Linked DNA regions of Homo sapiens: region 1 is linked to region 2. Evidence: promoter capture Hi-C in 16 types of primary human blood cells and fetal thymus (Javierre and others, 2016). All regions are on one chromosome and are shown on one strand. The core of a region is centred on a gene start or on the middle of the fragment in contact, and the rest is flanking DNA. Distances in the headings are between cores, read along the strand shown. Region 1 has its middle 440 kb from the start of LINC01440. Region 2 holds the start of MC3R (melanocortin 3 receptor).

Region 1 (4,842 bases), core at 1,215-3,714, 1.3 Mb before region 2:
TAGTACTCAGGAACAGGTGCGTGCGTGCGCACAGACACACGCACGTGTGACTCTACCCACTCCCTGATAAAAATGTGTTCAATGTTTAACTTTATTTTTATTTATTTATTTATTATTTATTTTGAGACGGAGTCTCGCCTTGTAACCCAGGCTGGAGTGCAGTGGCGCGATCTCCGCTCACTGCAAGCTCCGCCTTCCGGGTTCACGCCATTCTCCTGCCTCAGCCTCCCGAGTAGCTGTAGCTGGGACTACAGGCGCCTGGCACTGCGCCCAGCTAATTTTTTGTATTTTTAGTAGAGACGGAGTTTCACCGTGGTCTTGATCTCCTGACCTCGTGATCCACCCACCTCGGCCTCCCAAAGTGCTGGGATTACAGGCGTGAGCCACCGCGCCCTGCCCAATGTTTAACTTTCTAGCAAAAAGACAAACTTCATGCAAGCAGGAACTGGGCTCATTTTGTTCACTCTGTTATCTCCCATCTTTGGAACAGTGAGTACCGCAGAGGAGATGGTCTGTACATATTTTCTATATGAGAGGTAGATTTTTAAGGTATAAGGAACAATAGTTGGTCAATTAAGGAGCCTCTTACGTCCTTGTATGAAAACAATCCTATATTGTTTTACTTTGTCTTGAATTTTGTGAACCAATATACTGGCTACTATGTTCAGAGAATGTAGAGCAGCCCTGGTATATCTTCTTTTTATTTAGAAATAGTTTTAAACTTAGAAAAAAACTTAATACAAGAAACTTTTTCCCCTAAATCATTTGAGAGCAAGTTGCTCACATGCTATCCTATCACCAACCAATATTTTAGTGTGTGTTTCCACAAGCGAGGACATTATTCTACATAACTGCAATACAGCCATCAAACTCAGGTCATTAACATTGACATATTACTACCATCTAATTCATACACCCCATTCAAATTTCTTCAGTTGTTCCAATAATGTTATTTATGACAAAAAATCCAATCCAGGATCACACATTGCATTGAACTGTCATGTGTCTTTAGTCTCCTTCCAACTGGGACAGTTCCTCAGTCTTTCCTTGACTTTCATGACACTGATGGAACAGTTTGGAAATCTACAGATGATCTATGTTTTAGGATGTCTCCCAATTTAAGTTTGTCTGATATTTCCTCATAATTGGACCAGGTTATTCATTTGGGGCAAGAAGGTCCCAGTTGTGATGGCCGCATGTGTGTCACACACTCCATCAGGTGGCATTCGATCCTGACTTTTCCCATTCGTGTTGAAATTCACTTTGATCACCTCCCAGTTTCTCCAATGGAAGTTGCTCTTTTCCTTTTGAAATTAGTATGAATGTCATGGGAAGGTAACTTGAGAATACGTAAATATCTAATTCCTCGGCCAGGTACAGTGGCTTACACCTGTACTCCCAGCACTTTGGGAGGCTATGGTGGGATAATTACTTGAGGTAAGGAGTTCAAGACCAGCCTGGGTATTATAGCAAGACCCTGTCTCTACAAAACGTAAAAGAAATAGCTGGGTGTGGTAGTGTATGCCTGTAGTCTAAGCTACTCAGGAAGCTGAGGCAGGTGGATCATTTGAGCTCAGGAGTTTGAGGTTGCAGTGAGCTATGTTCACACCATAGCACTCCAGCCTGGATGACACCGTGAGAACCTGTCTCCAATTTAAAAAAAAAAAAAATCCAATTCTTCATGAAATTCTTACTCATTAGTTCTATATCCATTGATATCCCTTGGATAAACTATTACTATGATGATTGCTAAATGATGATTGTCTAATTCCATCATTCTGTCTATATCTATTGACATTCTACTATAGGAAGATTTGTTCTTTCTCATTAATTTTTATTGGCAAAATCTCATGAGTTCGTATTTTGTTCAATTGATAAAATTCATTATCATTATCCATTTTGATGTTTAAATTTATTTGACATCCTGGAAGCCCTTTCAAGTTGACATCAGTTTCATTTGTCACAGCTATGATTCTCTGAGAACGTTCTTATTTTCTGGCTGAAAACACTCTGTACTTACCTAGTTCTGCCCCAGCCCTGGTATCAGGCTTTATTCTAAGAAGCTTTGATTTCTTTTGGTAGAGAATGGTATTTAGAAACCAAGAACTGGACTCTAATTGTGCTGATTGGTTTTGAGTTATCAATATACTGGCTTTCTCAGAGAACACAGCTTGGGTATGTATATATATTTATAAAGTTTAATTAACTTTTCTCCCTTTTCATGTGTGTACACCCTTTCTCCAACAGTGTAAAAGTTGGTTACTGTTATACTTAGTATATTTACTCAGAGATCACTTGATTTCTGAGACTTTGTGCCAGGCCTCTACTGTCACTCTTACCTATAAGCACCCTCTTCACCTATTTCAAGCTCTTCTTCATCCAGTATTTATGAGCCACATTCAATGTGGCACTCACATTCCAAAGATAGTAGATAGAGAAGTGAACCAAATAAACATGGTCTCTGTTCCCATGAAGCCTGTCTTCTACCTGGAAAGCACTGAGATAGATTTGAATTTTAATTGTTTTTTTTTTTTTTTTTTTTTTTTTTTAGTGGTCACAAAACTTCATCAGGCAGTCACATAAACCATAAGGAGGTTAAAGGCAAACATATGCAGAAACATTTTAAACAGATTCACATGTAGGTCAACATTCATAGAGATTTTCCAGCAATAATGCTTTTCTAGAAAAGGTTTATTAAAGATATCAGTCAATTGTAAGAATTATGATCTATAAATGCTATTCATCACCACCTAGAATATATATCAGACATCAAAGTATTAACTTCTTTGAGTAATTTTTTTTCTAGTTAAATCTTCATTGTCAGACCTCACTTAGATGCAAATTCTTTAAGAGAAATCTTCCAGAGAAGCTTAAATTATAAAAGCCATATAAGTAGAAACACTGTATGTAAGTGGAAGTGGGGTCTAGGAAGCTTTCCCCACCTTCTTCCCCTTCTGTGCAATCCATGGAGCAACTCTGTAGAACACAGTTTGAAATCCTGGGCTACTTAAATGCCCTACTTTTTTTTTTTTTTAGCAAACCTGAAAAACTTCATTCCTTTATGTGGTCAAGAAATAATTACTATGCATCTTTTCTGTACCTAGTAATATACTAGGTGCCATAGAAAAAAGAACAGAAGCCTGGAAAGGTCCACTTTTATCTCACTGAGTTTGCAGACTTCTAGGAATAGAGGCAGCATACAAGTAAGCAAACACAAAGATATTTCCAGACTGATGTAAAACATGTGAAGAAAACCCATGAAGCTGCAAGGGAGCATTGTGGCAATCCTAAGCACTTTATAATAGCGTGGCTTGGAAGAACCTTCATAAAGTGGTGATACTGAAGCTGAGTCCTCGGTAATGTAGATCCAGGCATGAGAATGGTGGGCAAAAGTGATAAGATAATTTTAGACAGAGGGAACCGTGTGCATAAAGGAGCTGAGGCAGGAAGAAGCAGGCATATTCCTAAGAACCTTGCGGCCACTATAGTTGGGAACCATAGATCAAGGATAAGAGGATAAGTTAGTTAGGAAGAGGCCAGTTTTTGCAGGGCTTTGTTTAGGAGTTTAGATTTATTCTTAGACATGGGAAGTCGCTGTAGAATAATGATTGAATAAGGTGTTCGTCATATTTTGGCTACCTAGCAGCTCACCTTCTTCCTGTGTTTGGGAGGATTATCCACTGTATGAGTCCTGGGAATCACTGCTCACCCCCTGTCTCCTTCTCCTAGTGGAGTTCTTCTCTCTCAGGCACTTACAGTGAGAGAAGCATGGCACAAGATCAGGGCTTAGTCAGTCCTATGCCCCTTTCCAGAGCTTTGAACCTGGAGGAGAGTAAGGGAGCACAGCAGAGGAGAAAATTTCCTCCCACTGCACAGTCCTAATTAAATGGCTCTTCCTGGGCCATGGCAATGGGTCCTGTGGCTTGTCTTCCTTGGCAATGGGTCCTGTGCCTTGTCTTCCTTGGCAATAGGTCCTGTGGCTTGTCTGCCTTTGAGGCTTTATTTCTCCACCCTGGCTCCCCAGCCTTTCTGTCCATCTGGCAAGTGCTCAACATTCCTCTAACTAATTTTTCTGCATAAGTTACTATCTTGTATACAATCAAGAACTATGGCTGTTGAAAAAGATATCTCTGGCCACTAGATGGAGATAGAGAAGGCTAGAACAGAGGAAAAGGTGGCCTTGATTTGGGTAACAAGGTGATGATAATGGAGAAAATTCAGAGTAGAGATGAATACCCAAGAGTAGGTAAAAAAAAAAAGCCTCTCAGGTTGGGGAAGAAAACAGCTGTTAGTAAGGCCGTGAACTTTCCTTCACATGAGAATTCTGAAGCTAGCCTTTGGCTACAACCCAAAGTATACTGAATTAAGGTTTTGGTAAAAATAAAGCCACTGTTTAACAAGCTCCCTTACTTGCATTTTCAGTTATAGCAGATAGTGAGAAGCATATACGAAGTAGAAGTGAGGTGGGAAAAGTAGCACTGTTAGAGTCCATTGGTTCTTTTTACCTTTGCATCCTTTTTGAAAGCAACATTTTCATTCAGCTCAGCACAAAGATGCATGTTCAGAATCATAACCCTAGGCGAGCAGTTGTAAATACTCTGGAAGATGTGGTTTGTTTTTTGTTTTGTTTGTTTGGCTTGTGCCGCATTGAAAAATGAATTAGTTGTCAACATTAACAAATAGGAAGACTGGATTTTATTGCAAAAATGTTTAGCTTGGGCTGGGTGCAGTGGCTTATGCCTATAATCTCAGCACTTCGGGAGTTTGAGGCAGGAGGATCACTTTAGTCCAGGAGTTTGAGACCAGCCTGGACAGCATGGCAAAACCTAGTCTCAAAAAAAA
Region 2 (5,595 bases), core at 152-2,651:
CTGTCAAGGTACTGTCCAAATTCTCACATCTGGCTGAGGCTGTCCTTCAGGATTCAGGCACCTCTCAACTTTTTAAGAAACTGTGCAGCCTCATTTCTCAGATTGTGTCTCCTATTTCCATGCTCTGACCAGAGCAGACTACTTTCAGCACTTTCAAAAGCCCAAGATTCTTTTTCAGTGGAGCTCAACTGTGACTATGCCCCAGCTCACCTGTCAAAAATTGCAAACACACTTGTTCAGGTCTTACACCTGGGTGATTCTGACTCCGCGGGTCAAATGGGATCTCCACATCCACAATCTGTGATGACTTCTATGGCCAGGGTGCTCTCTGCCTCCAGGCTGCAGACGTGTGATTCCCTCTGCCTGGAGTCCTCTTCTACCTCCTCCAGCTCCAGCCCCCACCCCACCACCCACCCCAAACTGGATATGACCTCTTCCTCCTTGAAGTCAAAGCATAGGTGCTCCTTCCTCCAGGAACTTTGACAGTCCGGGTTAGGGCTCTTCCTCTTTGCATCCCTGGTTTCCTGGACTTTCCTGATTCAAGCATTTATTGATTCCTCTTCTTCCACCCCAGACTCTGAGTTCGGGGAAGCCTGAGATAGTGGCTGTTGTCTTGCTCACCACTGTATTTCCTGCACTCAGCAGAGACCTGACACATAGTAGGCGCTCAATAAATGTTTGCTAAACAACAACAACAAATGAATGAACTAACAAATAAACAAACAAATGAACAGATGAGTGGATGCCTGTGGCAGTTTCCATGACAAACACAAAGGGCTAAGCCAAGCCAGCAAGCAGACAGCCGTGCGGCCTGCAGAGGGCACTAGTCTGCTTCTTAATCTCCCTGCAGAATCCTCAGGGCCAGGTACCTGCTGTCAGTCAGAGAGGTGCCCGATGCTCAGTGGTCATTCTGCTGCGCTGAAGATTAAGTAGGAGTTGTTTGCCCTTGGCCAATATGAAAAACCTGAGTGTTCTCCCTTCACTTCTAGCGACAAGTAACACATCCCCTGTCTTGCCATGAAAAGAGCTGTAACTGTAGCAGCCGGTGGCAGGTTTTCTGTTCCCAGGTGGGGAAGTGAGGAGAGACAAACAGAGGGGTGAGAGGGAGACAGAAGGAAGACAGCTGGTAAGAGACCCTATGGTGTATTTTTTCTATGTAAACAAGATAAAAACTGCTCCTCCTGGAACAGCAAAGTTCTCCCTATGTCTCCAAGCTACAAACTTGCATGCTAGCTACTAACTAGCTACTCTCCCTCTCTCTCTCTCTTCCCCCTTCGCTCTTTCTCTCTGTGTGTATGTCTCTCTCTCTCTCTGTCTCTTCCTCCACCCTCTCTCACTATCTGTCTCTCTACCCTCCCCATCCTTTTATTCTAGAGGAGAATAAACTCTAAGGCCAGATTGAATGAGCATCCAAAAGACGTATCTGGAGGGAGATTTTGTCTTTCCTGTGAGCAGCAGCAGCTTCCTACGGACCCTGCTGGAGCCCCAGCTCGGATCAGCCCTTCTGACAGCAATGAATGCTTCGTGCTGCCTGCCCTCTGTTCAGCCAACACTGCCTAATGGCTCGGAGCACCTCCAAGCCCCTTTCTTCAGCAACCAGAGCAGCAGCGCCTTCTGTGAGCAGGTCTTCATCAAGCCCGAGGTTTTCCTGTCTCTGGGCATCGTCAGTCTGCTGGAAAACATCCTGGTTATCCTGGCCGTGGTCAGGAACGGCAACCTGCACTCCCCGATGTACTTCTTTCTCTGCAGCCTGGCGGTGGCCGACATGCTGGTAAGTGTGTCCAATGCCCTGGAGACCATCATGATCGCCATCGTCCACAGCGACTACCTGACCTTCGAGGACCAGTTTATCCAGCACATGGACAACATCTTCGACTCCATGATCTGCATCTCCCTGGTGGCCTCCATCTGCAACCTCCTGGCCATCGCCGTCGACAGGTACGTCACCATCTTTTACGCGCTCCGCTACCACAGCATCATGACCGTGAGGAAGGCCCTCACCTTGATCGTGGCCATCTGGGTCTGCTGCGGCGTCTGTGGCGTGGTGTTCATCGTCTACTCGGAGAGCAAAATGGTCATTGTGTGCCTCATCACCATGTTCTTCGCCATGATGCTCCTCATGGGCACCCTCTACGTGCACATGTTCCTCTTTGCGCGGCTGCACGTCAAGCGCATAGCAGCACTGCCACCTGCCGACGGGGTGGCCCCACAGCAACACTCATGCATGAAGGGGGCAGTCACCATCACCATTCTCCTGGGCGTGTTCATCTTCTGCTGGGCCCCCTTCTTCCTCCACCTGGTCCTCATCATCACCTGCCCCACCAACCCCTACTGCATCTGCTACACTGCCCACTTCAACACCTACCTGGTCCTCATCATGTGCAACTCCGTCATCGACCCACTCATCTACGCTTTCCGGAGCCTGGAATTGCGCAACACCTTTAGGGAGATTCTCTGTGGCTGCAACGGCATGAACTTGGGATAGGATGCAGGGCCATGGAAATGATCATCAGTCGGGTCACTTTTGACTTTCCATCCACGTGAGGTGTTTAGAAAGAAAAATATATATACTTAGAAAATATAAAAATGTGTTAACAGCCATGATTGTACTTGTCGTTTGTTTTTAAGTTTACAAAGCCTTTTAAAGGGGAAAATTGGTGAACAACAGATTCTCTGAAAGGATTCCAAGATGGGTAAGTCACAAACTCTGATTTCCCAAATAGTCACTGGGAGAAATCAGCGAAGGCTTCTCTGCATGCTCTCTGCACTCATTTCCAAACACCCAGGGTGTGCGACGCCTGTCTGCTCATCTGCTCCACACCCACGTCTTCATGCTCCAGGCCAGACCAGACTGAAGGATTCTCATGAACAATAAGGGTGGTTCAGATCTCTTGCAAGCAAACCTGTTACAGCTACGACCTCCTGCTGCCAGCTACACGGAGAGATAGCTTTGCACTTATAACTCCGTAGGAGACTGAGTTCTACTCTATTATTCTATTTACAGTTAGACAATTGTCTCTTTGTGAAAGGAGCAATGCTATGCCGTTTTCCCCTTTTCTTACCCCCATATCCCTTCAGTTGTCCCCACCCCCAAAGGTAGCATGAGGATGTAACCCACTTCTATTTTTCTGTTGTTGTGTTGGTGTGTGTTGTTGTTTTGTTTTTATGGATTAAATCTAAGACAACCTTCAAAACTCTAACGAAAGAGAGAAAGTGCTTTGGACAATCAGAATATACTTGTGTACGTGTATTTTGATACCTTGCTATTTTAAGGTATAGATTAATCTTTTTAAAATAACTTCTTTTTTTCTATCATTTACTTTTAGCCTTTAAAACAAGAAAGGAAATCATGGGTTGGGGTACATGTATATACGTGTGTGTGTGTGTGTGTGTGTGTGTGTGTGTGTGTGTGTATCACAAGAAATTGCTTTACTGTAGCTTAAGATAGTTTGAGAAACCGTAGAACCACTGTGTGACTTTCTTGGGAGCCCTTGTTTTTGCTTATAGTAATTGCATCTCTATCACAGGACTTCTTCAATATTATCTATGAAAGAGAAAGTTTTTTTGTTCTTTTCCCTTTTTGCTTGGCATTGTGTTAAAGTTGAGTGACCCTGTTATCAATGTCTATATCCTATCAAGTACAGGAATTCATTCCTGGGAGCAAAGGGTGAGACTGGCTGACTAGTGCTCGCATTGTCAGATCCTTTTCTGCCCAAGATAACTTCAATTTGTGCTTTCTGGCTGTCCCCATATCTCCCCCTGTCACAAATTCTTATATTAAGCTGTGTCTTGGGGTGCAATTGTGTGTTTATCTTGCACTAGCATATACTGGGGTTCTTTAATACTTGAAGATTTTCTGCTAATATAAGCAAAACCATTCCTTTCTTGCTTTGGTTATGATGTTTGGAAATAATAAAAAGCTTTTATGGCTGCTAAACGTGTGTTACATTGAAATACACCCTGGAATCATTCTGGTGACTCCTGCACACGGCCATGGTATGTTTCACTGCAATTCAGTGATGACTTTGTAAGTGGCATAAACAGCTCCATTGATCACAGTGCTAGTCTTTTCTAGGGCAATGCCTTTTAGCCAAACTACAAAACTCTCCCATTTAGTTTCCAAAAATACCAGGTTTGTGGTTCCCGGGCCACTGTCGTTCTCCATTATTTTAATCAAGACACTAAATTACAGGACTTTCCATGGCCGCTCAGTGGGTAAATGTAGAGAATGGGGAATCTAATTACTTGAAAGTGATATGAATAGCTATAGGGATTATGTCTTTTTTCTATGTAAACAAGATAAAAATAACTTACTTTTCACTCTTATATCAGTTTTCACACTATTTCATTTTATCCCATTAGCAAACCTCTAAAATAGGTGAGTCATTTTACAAATGAAGAAATTTAGCCTTGGAGGGGTGATATGGTTGTCCAGGAGCACCCACCTAGTTAGGGTCATGGTATATTCTGCATCCTGGGGCTGATGTCCTTTTGCACCAATATGCTGCTGCCAGCAGGTTTTCATCATCAAAACTAGTCCCCCTCTCCTCCCTGTATGTTTTAGCTTGCAGGGGCACTTCCAAACTGGAAGGCCCACGAGCATCACCTGGGATCCTGTGCAAGTGCAGAATCTGATTCGGCAGGTCCAAGGTAGGGACTAAGAGTCTGCATTTCTAACTCCGACAAGCTCCTCGGGGACGTGGCTGCTGGTTGGGGGTCCCCATCTTAAAGAGCAAGGGCATAGAGGATTTTCAAATGAGTATTATGCGAAGTAAAAGTACTCTTCTGCCTAGAATGCTGACCCCACGCCAGGGACTGTGCTAAGCACTTCACAGGCATTTGCTCCTTGTGATAACCCTACCAGGTAGATACCATGGTTATCCTGATTTTGCAGATGAGCTATGTGAAACTCGGAGAGGTTAAGGAGCTTGTCTATAGGAACTCGGCCAGCAAGTAGAGATAGGGAGATTCAGGCTGGCCAGCCCCCACCCCCAAATCCAACCAGTGTCCTAGCCCCTCTCATGATGACACAGGAACCTTTGAACTGGGACCCAATGACTTGGGAGCCACGTGTCGCCATGCAGAGAGAACTTGATGCATGTTTCTACCACACACAGGTCCAGATGTTCCCAGCAGAGTTTCCAGAGAGATGTCATAAAAATCAAAAGGCACAATTAATTCTTTAACTTGCTATAAATTTTCCAAAGTCTGTGAGTAGCCCTGGGGAGTGCATCAAAGAGGTAAGTTACTAAAGCATCCGTTTCCCTAGTGAACAACCCTGAACGCTGGGGTGCCACTGTCTCCTCCGCGACCACTTTCTCAGATTCTCAAGTGGGAACTCACCAGATGTTTTAAGCGGCAGGACAGTCATGTTTGAAAATGCTTAATTGTTGGAAGTAAAAGCACACCATGATTTTAGCTCATCTGTTAATTCATTTATCGATTTTCACCCCCATCCCCAAGGCAGAATCCCTGCAGTACTTGATTCTCTGAGTCCTGAGAAGTTGTTGCCTGTTGTCCTTATTTAAGATGAACTTTTGAATTTAATTTTGAAATCTTTCTATAGAGGCTGGGTGCTAAAACATACGCTAGCCT

The links. Contacts are between HindIII fragments. The CHiCAGO score rates a contact against its expected background, and 5 or more counts as called.
Region 1: a contact is called between a fragment that was not itself captured here and the fragment with the promoter of MC3R in region 2, in 1 of 17 cell types (endothelial precursors). The highest score is 5.6, in endothelial precursors.

Annotation. Positions count from the first base shown.
Region 1 is chr20:54,976,406-54,981,247 of GRCh38, forward strand. No RefSeq gene overlaps it. Among named protein-coding and RNA genes, the nearest start is that of LINC01440, 440 kb to the right of the region's middle. The HindIII fragment of the contact is 806 bases long and covers 2,062-2,867 here.
Region 2 is chr20:56,247,331-56,252,925 of GRCh38, forward strand. MC3R (melanocortin 3 receptor) reads left to right here and starts at 1,402. Exons shown (of 1, transcript NM_019888.3): 1 at 1,402-2,485. The coding sequence starts at 1,514. The coding sequence ends at 2,485. RefSeq lists a silencer at 803-872. The HindIII fragment of the contact is 15,724 bases long and covers 1-3,918 here.